Regions from separate parts of the Homo sapiens genome. Here region 2 is linked to region 1. Evidence: promoter capture Hi-C in 16 types of primary human blood cells and fetal thymus (Javierre and others, 2016). All regions are on one chromosome and are shown on one strand. Each heading gives the region's core, a stretch centred on a gene start or on the middle of the fragment in contact. The rest is flanking DNA. Distances are from core to core; before and after follow the strand shown.

Evidence for each region. The method cuts DNA at HindIII sites, captures the fragments that hold promoters and counts their contacts. A CHiCAGO score of 5 or more calls a contact.
Region 2: a fragment that was not itself captured here is called in contact with the fragment with the promoter of NFKB2 in region 1 in 2 of 17 cell types (M1 macrophages and activated CD4 T cells); the score reaches 6.6 in M1 macrophages.

Annotation. Positions count from the first base shown.
Region 1 is chr10:102,394,383-102,399,832 of GRCh38, reverse strand. NFKB2 (nuclear factor kappa B subunit 2) reads right to left here and starts at 4,128. Exons shown (of 23, transcript NM_001322934.2): 1 at 4,037-4,128; 2 at 3,853-3,945; 3 at 3,499-3,580; 4 at 3,344-3,384; 5 at 3,010-3,108; 6 at 2,778-2,929; 7 at 2,425-2,531; 8 at 2,148-2,306; 9 at 1,748-1,852; 10 at 1,536-1,621; 11 at 1,310-1,448; 12 at 969-1,094; 13 at 336-545; 14 at 115-256. The coding sequence starts at 3,873. RefSeq lists a silencer at 233-552 and enhancers at 1,767-2,061, 3,533-3,652, 4,063-4,112, 5,163-5,450. The HindIII fragment of the contact is 5,152 bases long and covers 1,996-5,450 here.
Region 2 is chr10:102,111,930-102,117,379 of GRCh38, reverse strand. All of the region lies in intron 1 of LDB1 (LIM domain binding 1), which reads left to right. Among named protein-coding and RNA genes, the nearest start is that of LDB1, 5.7 kb to the left of the region's middle. RefSeq lists an enhancer at 1-236 and silencers at 2,247-2,456, 2,567-2,716, 2,737-2,886, 2,937-3,026. The HindIII fragment of the contact is 8,794 bases long and covers 1-5,450 here.

The DNA of each region.
Region 1 (5,450 bases), core at 2,879-5,378:
CACCGAGGCCGGACTTGAAGCCTGGCGTGTCCGAAAACTGCAGAGCCCGCCTCCGTGCCGGTCCCTTTCCTGCCCCCACCCCGCGCCTCGTCCGCCAGGCCCTCTGTTGCCTACGTGTCTCCGTTCTCGTCCTGCGCCGTCAGCAGGTGGCGCTGTCCCGCCAGCAGCGCGCGCGCGTCCGCGGTGACGCCGTAGTCGAGTAGGGCTCGGGCGCTGCGCTGCGCCAGGCCGAACAGGCGCGCGTTGTACTCTCGAGCTACGGGCCACAGAGGGCGTGGGTCAGGGCTAGGTCCTCAGCCCCGGCGCCCCGACCGCCCGTGCCCCGGAGTCCATACCTCGCTGCAGCATCTCCGGGGCCTGCGGCTCGCACTGGGGGGTCCTGGAGGGGGCGCTTGGCTCCGCGGCTTCCTCCCCGGAGTCCCTGCTGGGCACCGTGGCGGCCATCTGCGCCCCGCCCCCGCCTCCCGGGTAGCAGCCCATGGGGCCCGCGCCGGACTGGTAGGGGCTGTAGGCCAGGGAGGAGGGGAAGAAACCGAGGCTGCCACCTGTGGATACAGGCAGGGCTGTGGGAAGCGGGCACCAGCCATGACTCTCCCAGATTTTTTTTTTTTTTTTTTGAGACGGAGTTTCGCTCTTATTGCCCAGCCTGGAGTGCAGTGGTGTGATCTCAGCTTACTGCAACCTCTTGTCTCCCAGGGTTCAAGCGATTCTCCTGCCTCAGCCTCCCGAGTAGCTGGGATTACAGGCGCCTGCCACCATGCCCAGCTAATGTTTGTATTTTTAGTAGAGACGAGGTTTCACGCTGTTGGCCAAGCTGGTCTTGAACTCCTGATCTCAGGTAATCTGCCTGCCTTGGCCTCCCAAAGGGCTGGATTACAGGCGTGAGCCACCACGCCCGGCCTCCCCCAGATTTTTTTCCTCCACAGCTTCTCTTACCTTTACCCCTCCCTCCATCAGTACCCCCTCACCTCCTCCAGCTCCTCCGTAGCCCCCGGCTGCACCCCCAGAGCCTCCACCCATGTGGGAGCCACCCCCGAAGGGCTGGGAGAAGGTGGGCAAGGCCTTCCTCCGCTTCCGCTGCACCTCTTCCTTGTCTGGGGGCAGAGGAAAATGAGATTGAGCCCAGTTATTGTGTCATGCCTCAGGGGCCCTTCCCAGAAGAGCCCTCAGGGCCGGCTCCTAGGAAGCACCTCCTGGGACCCTCGCACTTCTGACTTGGCTCATGCATCCCCACATCTAGCTCTTGGGACCTTCTTCTAGCCCAGCCTGGCCCCCCGCCAGCACCCTGAGGTCCTCAGCCCAGCTCCACCTTCCACCAGAGGGTAATAGGTGAACTGTTTGGAATCAGACACGTCCCCTCCTCGCTTGCGTTTCAGTTGCAGAAACACTGTTACAGGCCGCTCAATCTTCATCTTGTGATAGGGGGGTGTCCGGAACACAATGGCATACTGGGGGGTGCAGGGAGACACAGGGTGTCAGTGAGTCCTTAGCCTAATTTAGCCCCCAGCCCGGGCCCGGGCCCTAGCCCTGGGTACCTGTTTATGCACATCTGTGGGAGAGAAGTCCCCAAAGGCCTGCCATCCATTCTCATCATCCTCATAGAACCGAACCTCAATGTCATCTACAAGGAAAACGGAAGCTTGGCCACAGCTCCCGGTGGAATCTCTGGGGCCATTTACCCTAGAGCTTCCCTGGCCCCAGTCTTATACTCGATGTCCTTGGTGCCCAAAGTGGGCTCCAGTCTCACCTTTCTGCACCTTGTCACAAAGCAGATAAACTTCATCTCCACCCCGCACAGAGCCTGCTGTCTTGTCCATTCGAGAAATCTTCAGGTTTGATGCCCCCGGAGATTCTATGGAGTGGGATATGGATTAGTTGAGATGATGCAATAGCCAAGGCCACATTTAAGAAGCTGGGGGCTTTGTATTCCTTATCTCAGCAACCCCTGGAGCTGCAGGAAACACCCAATATACACATTTACTAAAGACAGAAGCTTCGGGGGGGAAATGACTTGCTCAGGATCACTCAGCTCATATGTGGCAGGGCCAGGTTCTGAAACCTGGGTCTGTTTGACTGCACAGCTTGAGGTCACCCCTCATGCCACCTCTGCCACCAGGCCTGGCACCCCAGGCAATCAGGATACTCACTGCTGTCATGGATGGGCTGGGAGATGACTGGCTTCAGGGGCAGGGAGAAGGAGCCATCACTGGCTCTAAGGAAGGCAGAGAAGCGCAGCCGCACTATACTCAGATCCATCACCTTCTTCAGTTCTTTGGCCTCTTGCTCCAGCTCCCGCTGCTCGGCCTCTGGGCAGTAGGTACATGTGTGACCCCTGGGCTTCTCCCTCCCTGCTCCTTCCATGAGCACCTCCCATGACCCACCCACCCCCTGCACCCATACCCGACCCACCCCCTGCACCCATACCCGTAAGGCCCTGGGGCCTAGAGCGGAGCCGCTGCCTCTGAAGTTTTTGTATCATAGTCCCCATCATGTTCTTCTTAGTCACATGCAGGACACCCAGGTTGTTAAATCTGAGAAGAGAGAATCGGAGGCCTTTGGCCATGCAGTTCTTTCTTCCTGAGGCACCTTTCCCATTGCCAGGGCTCAGCTCAGCCTTACTTCCTCAAGGAAGCCATTGGAGTTTCTACTTAGGCCCTTGGGTTTGGGGCCAACCTACATCTTTCCCCTTGGTCAGATGCTAAGCTCATGGAGGTGGGCTGGGGCCTGGGACTGGCAGACGGGCATACCAGTGGGGGCCAGGCGTAGAGGGCACCTACTGGGCAGTCATGTCCTTGGGCCCCACAGAAACGGCGCAGATCCCCAGCTCCGAGCATTGCTTGCCCACCAGACTGTGGGCATGAGCACGAGGTGGGTCACTGTGTGTTACCAGGTCCACCTCGATCTTGGCTGGTCCCTCGTAGTTACAGATCTAGGAGAGGCAGGGACTGTCAGTCAGGGCCTTGGGCATGCTGTCCACTTAGCCCACCCTCCAGCACCATCCTGGCTCACCTTGACAGTGGGATAGGTCTTTCGGCCCTTCTCACTGGAGGCACCGGGCAGTCCTCCATGGGAGGGGCCTTCACAGCCATATCGAAATCGGAAGCCTCTCTGAAGGTCCAAGGGCATAGTAGCATTGTGATCAGGGAAGACCACCCAGGCCAGCAGTGACCGCAGTGCCTGGTAGTAGCCCTGAACCAAACTACAGCACTCTGATCAGCAGCAGTGACCATCCAATCCCCTGTGGCCTCCTTCGGCAATGGCTCCTCCATGGCCAGCCAGCTACCACTACCCCATTTGTCCCCAAAGCTGAAGCCATTCCACACCCTCCCTTTTGCTCACTCACCTGCTTAGGCTGTTCCACGATCACCAGGTAGGGGCCATCAGCTGGGGACAGAGAGACCTTGCTGAGCCACGATCTCCCAGCCCCTCCCCCAGAGAGAGGGCACATGCTCTCCCTCCCCCGCTTTAGGACTAGGGGAGGTTAGTGAACTTGCTGACCTGTTTCTGGGGCTGGCTCCTTGGGTTCCACAATGGAGGAGTTCAATTTGAAATCATCATATTCAATAATACCATCCAGACCCTGGTTTGGAGACAGACTGGGGGTGGCATCCGACTCTCAGCACCCCCCACAGCCCCACCTCCCATCTCCAAGTCTTCAGTGGTCACTCCCCCCTCCTCCTCAGACCCAAGAGAAAGCTCCTTTTGGAGGCAGAGTTGCAGACAGATGGACAGACTGGCAGGCTGAGAGCATCTGCGAGCATACAGGTGTAAGGCAGCAGAGGGGGCTCGGGCAGACAGGTGGACAGACACGAGGGGCAGCCGGCCGGGTCAGGGGCAGGCGGCATGACTCACTGGGTTGTAGCAACTCTCCATGTCTCTGGGCTAGGCCCGGCTCTGTCTAGTGGCTCCGGCCAGGTTCTGCTTCCCAGAATTTTAGACGCCCGCCTAAAGTTGGGAGGAGTGGCGTGGGGGAGGGGGTCAGATCTAAATGGGGGTGGGCGGGAGATGGGGGCCCAGATTTGGGGGAGGGTCCGACCTCCTCCAGCCGCCTGTCCGGGTGTGGCGGGTGAGATCCGGTGGAGAGCGAGATCCGGAGTTGGGCTTGGCCGGGGAAGGGGCAGGAAAGTTAGAGCAGCTTAGGAAAGTCCCGAAAATACCAAGGGGAGGCGGGGCCGGAGGGGGCGGGCCTGGAAATGACGCCACTGGCCCCGCCCTCGCGACGGGAGGGGCGGGAGGCCCTCGACAGTCTACGGGCTCCCGCTGCTTTTCAGCGGGCAGAGGTCTAGGAGAATCCGGGAAGCCCCGGTGGGGGTTAAGCCCCCTCCTCCCTCCAGGGCAGGGAACAGGAGGGTCTTTCACGGCCGGGAGGAGGCTGGCAGTCTGGGGCCAAGTCCGCCTCCCGCTCCCCTCCCCCGGTCTGGAGCAACCTTGGGATTTTCTGCCAGGAGGGAGGCCACGGCTGATAAACCCCGGGGGCTTTTGGGGGGACATTCCTGCTGTCGGACGGCCTCCCCTTCGAACAGCCTGTAGGCGGGGGCTCTTTCCTGTGGGAGGCCCCGGGGTTCTGCCCCGAGAACGCGATTCTGGGGCTGCGGGAAAAGTGTCTCCTCCTCGGAGTGGGCTCTTTTCTCTCTCTCCCAAACCTCACAACAGCAGCTGGTCCCACACCGCACCGGTTCTGGGCGCGCAGGCGACAGGGAGATCTCTGCACGCTCCCCCCCCCCCCCCCCCACCTAATACAAGAGTGTGTCTCCATCACAGCTCCACAAGTGTGTTTCGGCTGTAGTGCTTGGTTGCATGTTGTGTGTCCATGGCGTCAACATGAGTGTGCAAGCGAGCATGTGTGTAGATAGGTGAATCCCGAGCTTCTCAGTGTGGGTGTGTGTCAGCGCCTGTCTTGATGTACGGACACGGGTGAGCGTATCTTGAGTTTGTGCGTGAAGGGTGTGGGTGCAGGCACCAGTGCACCGGTGGGCACGTCTCCGTGTGCATGTGTGTGCGAGTGCGACTGCACGGACGCTGCCGTGTGTGCGCCAGCACAGGTACAGGTGTACGTACGGGTCCGCGTATCTTTGTACAACGGTGTCGACGTGGATCCGAGTGTCGTCGCCTGCGCGCCCTTTCCGGCTGTGTGCAGCTGCTGCTCTCCAGCCCCAGGCGCTGTCCGCTAAAGGCCCTCCTCCCTCTTTTCTCTTGTCCCGGCCACCCAGGGGTCTGAATCCAGCCACTCACCGTGGCGGCGGCTCTGGTTGCGGCTTCTCTCCGCGCCCGACCCACCTGGGACCGGTCGCGACACCTCGCCTGCCAGCAGGGCTCAGGGCCGGGAAAGCCCCTTCTCGGCCCCCCGGAGGGGGGAATTCCCATGACGTTTCCGTGCGTCACGCCTCGCGCCCTTTTTCATTGGCTGAAAGTTTAACTCTGGACTGGCGCAGCCAACCCGGAGCGACTCG
Region 2 (5,450 bases), core at 1,492-3,991, 280 kb after region 1:
TTTTTAGCTGGACCTGTTCTGCCCCTGTGCAACTGGGTAAATCTGGTCAGAGCAGAGAAAGGAGCAGACTTGCTAGAGAATAACTAGAAGGCCTGTTTTGAATGGTTTGCCAGTCGATACATCTTGGCATTTAGGGGCCCCTCCACCCCACAGCGAGACTGGAGGGCCCTTGTAGTCCCTCCTGTCTGAGGAGACAGGGTGGGTGTGGGGTTCTGAGCTCTGGGCTGGAGGCAAAAGCCAGAGCACATTTCCCCCTCCCCATGAGGACAGTGATTTGAGGCCTGGAGGGGGAAGGGAGTAGGAATGGCTGCAGGGCTTGGCTTGTATCTGGTGGGTTTAGAAGTGCAGGGTTCAACCCCCCCACCCCCCAGCCCACCCTGGTCATCCTGTCTCAGTGGGTTCTGTTAGGATCTCACTGTTAGGATATTTGGCCCTATGTGCTATGAGGATCTCTTGAGGTACTGCCTGTGAATGCACTTTGGAAAGTTTAAAGGCAGTGGGGGAGAAGTGGGACTACCCCAGAGTTAAGCTGTAAATTTGGGAGTCAGTGGGAGTGTCTTAAGTCCTGGTGATAGGCTGTATGTTGCAGGGTCTGGCTGAATGTTATAGATTTCAGTATGTTTGTGAAAGCTGGGGTTTATTCTATGGCCAGGCTGTGATGAGGAATGGTACGCAGGCTTCAGAGAGGGTGATTTATAGGTTAAGTCCTTGCATAATAAATGATCGGGGTGTGTATGTGATAGGCTGTCACAGGTTTAGGGGTTATAACACAGTTTTGGTGTGTGTATTGAGGTCAGGATGCGTGTCATAGGTCCCAGTGTGTATGACTTAGACTGTGTGTGTGTGTATATATCCAGGATTTGGGTATATTTAGGATTTGAGATATATCACAGGTTGATGGCCAGACGCGGTGGCTCACATCTGTAATACTAGCACTTTGGGAGGCCAAGGTGGGTGGATCACCTGAGGTCAGGCGTTCGAGACCAGCCTGGCCAACATAGTGAAACCTGTCTCTACTAAAAATACAAAAATTAGCTGGGTGTGGTGGCATGCACCTGTAATCTCAGCTACTCAGGAGGCTGAGGCAGGAGAATCGCTTGAACCCAGGAGCTGGAGGTTGCAGTGAGCCGAGATCGCGCCACTGCACTCCAGCCTAAGCAACAGAGCGAGACTCCGTCTTGGAAAAAAGATATATCACAGGTTGAAATGTGTATCAGGTAGTGATTTATGTGAAAGTGAGATGTGTTATTTATGTGGAAGATGTTCACAGAGCCAGGTGCAATATTACTGCACAGTTAACTAGTGAGTATGTCATAAGAAATCCTGTCCTTGGAGTTATGTGTGAATATAGTTGGGGGTAGGAGACAGGAAGTAGAGAAACAGACACTCAAATTGCAAAGAAGGAAATAGAAGGTTCGTGCTCCCCCTTCCCGTGTGTGTGTGTGTGTTTGTGTGTGTGTGTGTGTACTATGTATTTTCCTTTTCCTATTTGTCCACGAGTAAGGTCTGGCCCACTACCCAAGTTTTAGAAATATTCCCTCCTGCTACAACAAAATTACCTTAGGAAAAAAAATAGAAATATCTGCTCCCTTGGGATGCCCTGCTGGATGGGAGAACAGGTCCTATCCACTAACCACACGTTTTTTTTTCTGGGGTGGTGGGGAGGATTCAGCAGCAAACTAAGCTCCTTCTGGGGACCCTTGGATGGCCAAGTTGGCTTTCCCTAGCTCTGACAATGCCTCTTTCCCTGGCACCCACTTGTCTTCAGTGGTGGTGGGGAAGGGGGCTTCCTGTTAAGGGGGATCTAAGTCAAGGCTTGGAATTTAGCTGGGTTGGGGGCAGGGAAGCCTGGAGTGTCCCCCTTCCTCCAATCAGTGTTTACAGTCTGATGTCAGAATGTGTGTCTGTCAAAAATAACCCCCTGGAGCCTCTCCCCCCAGCTGCTCCAGGATTTCACCAGGGGAGCCCAGGCTGGCAGTCCGGGCCAGCCTTCAACCTGAGCGATCACAGGGGCGAGAAAGATTTGGGGGAGGTTTGGGAGGTGCTTTGAAGATCTTGGAGTCTGCAGAGAGGAGCCCGCCCTCCTCCATCTCTGCCAGTGGCTTTGGCCCACCTGCTCACTCCTGAGCACCGTGCCTGGGGCTCGGGGGAGGCGGGCTGCATTTCGTTCCTGGCCCCCACAGGCCTCTCCTCCATCCAGGTCTCTCCTGGCCCAATCTGATCCGTCCCCTGTCTCTCCCAGTCTCTGTCTCTCTTTTGTTTTTCTCAGCAGTCCCTCCGTCCCAGCCTCCCTCCCTCCCTTGCTCTTCCTCTTTCCTCTCAGGGAGGGGGCGGGGCCGGTGGGGGCAGCTCCACCCTCCGCCCGCCCTGGGGCCTCATTCTGAGAGAGGCTCGGAGAGAGCGAGCGGGGAGGGAGGGAGGCAGGGAGAGAAAGGGAGAAAGGCAGGCAGCCGGCGGGCGCTGCGTGTGTGTTTGAGTGTGCGAGTGTGAGTGAGTGTGAGTGCCGGGTCCTGCCTCTCCTGGTGCCCCCAGCAGAGGGGCCCGGTGGCCTGGGGAGGGCGGGCGGGCTGCTCGGAGGCAGAGGCAGCAAGAGGCGGCGGCGGGGAGAGCCGAGAAGGAGGAGGAGGAGAGAGGAAAGAGCGGAGCAGCCATTGTTGAGGGAAACCTTGCAAACAAAGAAGGCTCCGGACTCCCCGCGGCCCCCCGCCCCCCAGGCCGGCCCCCTGGCCCCCGGCCCCCGGCCCAGTGGCCATTGTAACTTTCCCCCGGGACAGCGGCCGCCGCGGGGCGGGCCGAGGCAGTGCGTGCGAGTCTTTGTGCGGCCGGCGGACTGGAGCTCCCAGTCGGGCCTGCCCGTCCCACTCGGGACATGAGCTGCTGAAGTTGTCCCCCCGTCAGCCCTCACCCCTGCCAGGACTCCTCTGGGCTTGCAGTCGCTCCCCCGTACCTCTCCTGGCCCCCTCAGTTCTCCCAGGTAAGTCTGGGCACCCTGCGAGCCTGTTGGGGGTGGGCGGAAGGCCCTCAGCCCGGCCCGGGCCTGATCTGCGGGCTGGGGGAGAGGTGCCCCAGCCCAGAGCCGCCGGGGCGCTCAGGCCTGCTGACCTGTGGCCAGTCCCTAAAGGGAGGAGGCCTGCCCTCGAGTCAGCCTGGTTACCATGGCAATACCCAGCTGGAGGTGCCCCCCTCAGCCCCGGGATGCAGCTTCCACCCTGAGAAAACTTTACTAGTTCTGGGCTCTTCTCTCCCCCTTCCTAAAGGCTTCCAATTTGCTAGAGGTGGGAGGGGGGCTATGGCTGACTCCAGGGCTGGATGACACATCTCCTCCGTCCCCCCACCTTGCTGCCTCTACTCCTGCTGCTGGGGACAGGCAGCAACAGGGACAGATGGTCTGGGTGATGTCCCTCCCCTTCTCTACTCACTCCCAAGCCCTTGTGCTGGAGCCACTGGGAGTTGTGGCTCTGGAGAGATGCTGAGTTTGTGTCCATTCACTGGAGGTGTAAATAGAGGCCCAGAGCTTTGGGCTCTAGCTCCTCAGAGCTATTTACCCAGGCCTAGACAATGCCTGTTCATTCTCTAGAGAGAGAAATGGAGGCTCTGAGAGTTTTTTTTTTTTTTTTTTTACAAAATTGGAGAGAAACCCAGGCGTCCTGCCTCCTGTCTCTTCAGGTTCTTGAGCTAACACATTTCAAGTGGCCCGGAAACTGAGGAGGCAGGGGTGGTTAAGCTATGGGAGAAAGGATGGCCTAGTTGGGGGATGAGGGCCAGGTCTGAGAATCTACTCTTGGGTTTATTGCCCAGGCCTGGCCTCTGGTGGGCTGTGTGAGTTTGGGCTTCCTGTGTGGCCTTAGTCTGCCTGTCTGTGGATTGGGGAGACTTGGTGGCTGGGTGGGGACTGTCTTTCTGGAGACACAGGCTCAGTCCAGACTGGCATGTGAAGGCTGTGTGTGCTGTTCTTGGAGCATATGGATGTGGCCCGTGAGAGCTCGTGCATGGGGTGAGGGCCTGTTGCGGGCATCTGAATCTGCCTGGGGCTGCTGGGTTCCAGCCCTTGATAGGCATGTTAGGGCGAGCTGAGGGTGAAAGCCTGCTAGGCAGGATGAGGCACACGTGTGTGCAGGCACACACAGGCTCTGACTTGGCATCTTCAGAGACTGTGCAGTCTGGGACCCTCCTTTTGCCTGCATTGTGAGGACAGGGCTCTGGGGAGAGAATTAAATGACACATGTTGGCACAGGGTCTTCTTTTGTCTCTTCCCCCCAAAGAAACAAAATAGGTTTTGTATCTAAGTTGGGGAGGAGATCTAGATACAGCCAATCTAGCTACCCTTCCAAATGCAGTCGAGTTTTAGGGACCCAAGGAAGCAAATGTGATTGGAGTCAGATGAACTTTTGGGCCTGTGCCTCAGTTTCCCCTCCTATCTGGTGAGAAGGGGAAACAGAGTTGCAGGGGTACCTGGCTCATACCCAACTATGAATTTAACACTTTTTCCAGTCAGAAAACAGTATTCCAGGAACTGTTTGCTGTTAGGTGAGGTGAGAGAGAGGACATGTGCACATCACAGATACACACTAGTGAGACCCCTGTCTAGTGACCACTTGCCCCTAGACTGAGGAACATAGGCTTCTTCCCAGACCACCTACTTCTCAATTGTAGGTAGAGTGGGATGCAAAGGAGGCTCATCTGCCTGCTTCCCCGACTCCCAAGTCTCAGAAGAGAAAAGGGGTTGAGGCTTTGGGTTTCTGGTTTGGAGACAATACTGTCTACCCTTGGGGGCGGGGGTGGGGGCTGGGCTGATAAGGGAGTGGCCGTTAGTGGGGAGGCAGAAGGCCCAACTGGTTATCTGGTAGGCCACACCCAACAGGCACCCACCCCCATTTATCTTTCCATCCCTTGCCCTCCTGAGACCCTGAGGGTGGAGGAAGGGCAGAGTTTGAAAATCCTCCCTTTTCCTCCCCCACTTTGGTCTCTAGAGGGCAATAGAGGGGTCAGATGGTAGAAAGAGTATAGGATGTGGGAATCAGAAGATCCAAGCTCAAGTCCTAGCTTTGACAGTTACTAGCTTTATGATCTTGGCAAGGTCCTTTGAGCCCTCAGTTGCCTCATCTGTAAAATGGGAATGTTATGGTCAGCCCTGCTACCTCATAAGGTTGTTTTGATGATTGAGTGAAAGTATGTAGATTAAAAGGGGGTTTATCAATATTAGATTCTAATGATTGGATATTTATTTATTCTGTAATCATTCTTCCCAGCTTCAATTCCTCTTCTGTCATCTAGGACTCAGCCAAATGAAGAAATGGGATCTTGGGTATGCGCTGGGATTAGGGTGGACTACTCTTGTTTCTTAATGAAATAAGATTGGAGCCAGAATTAGAAGGAGAGACAGGTGCTCCCTAGAGTAGCCCCCTCCCCTAGTCCACCACTCTCTTATAATCAGGCCAGGGAGCTCCATA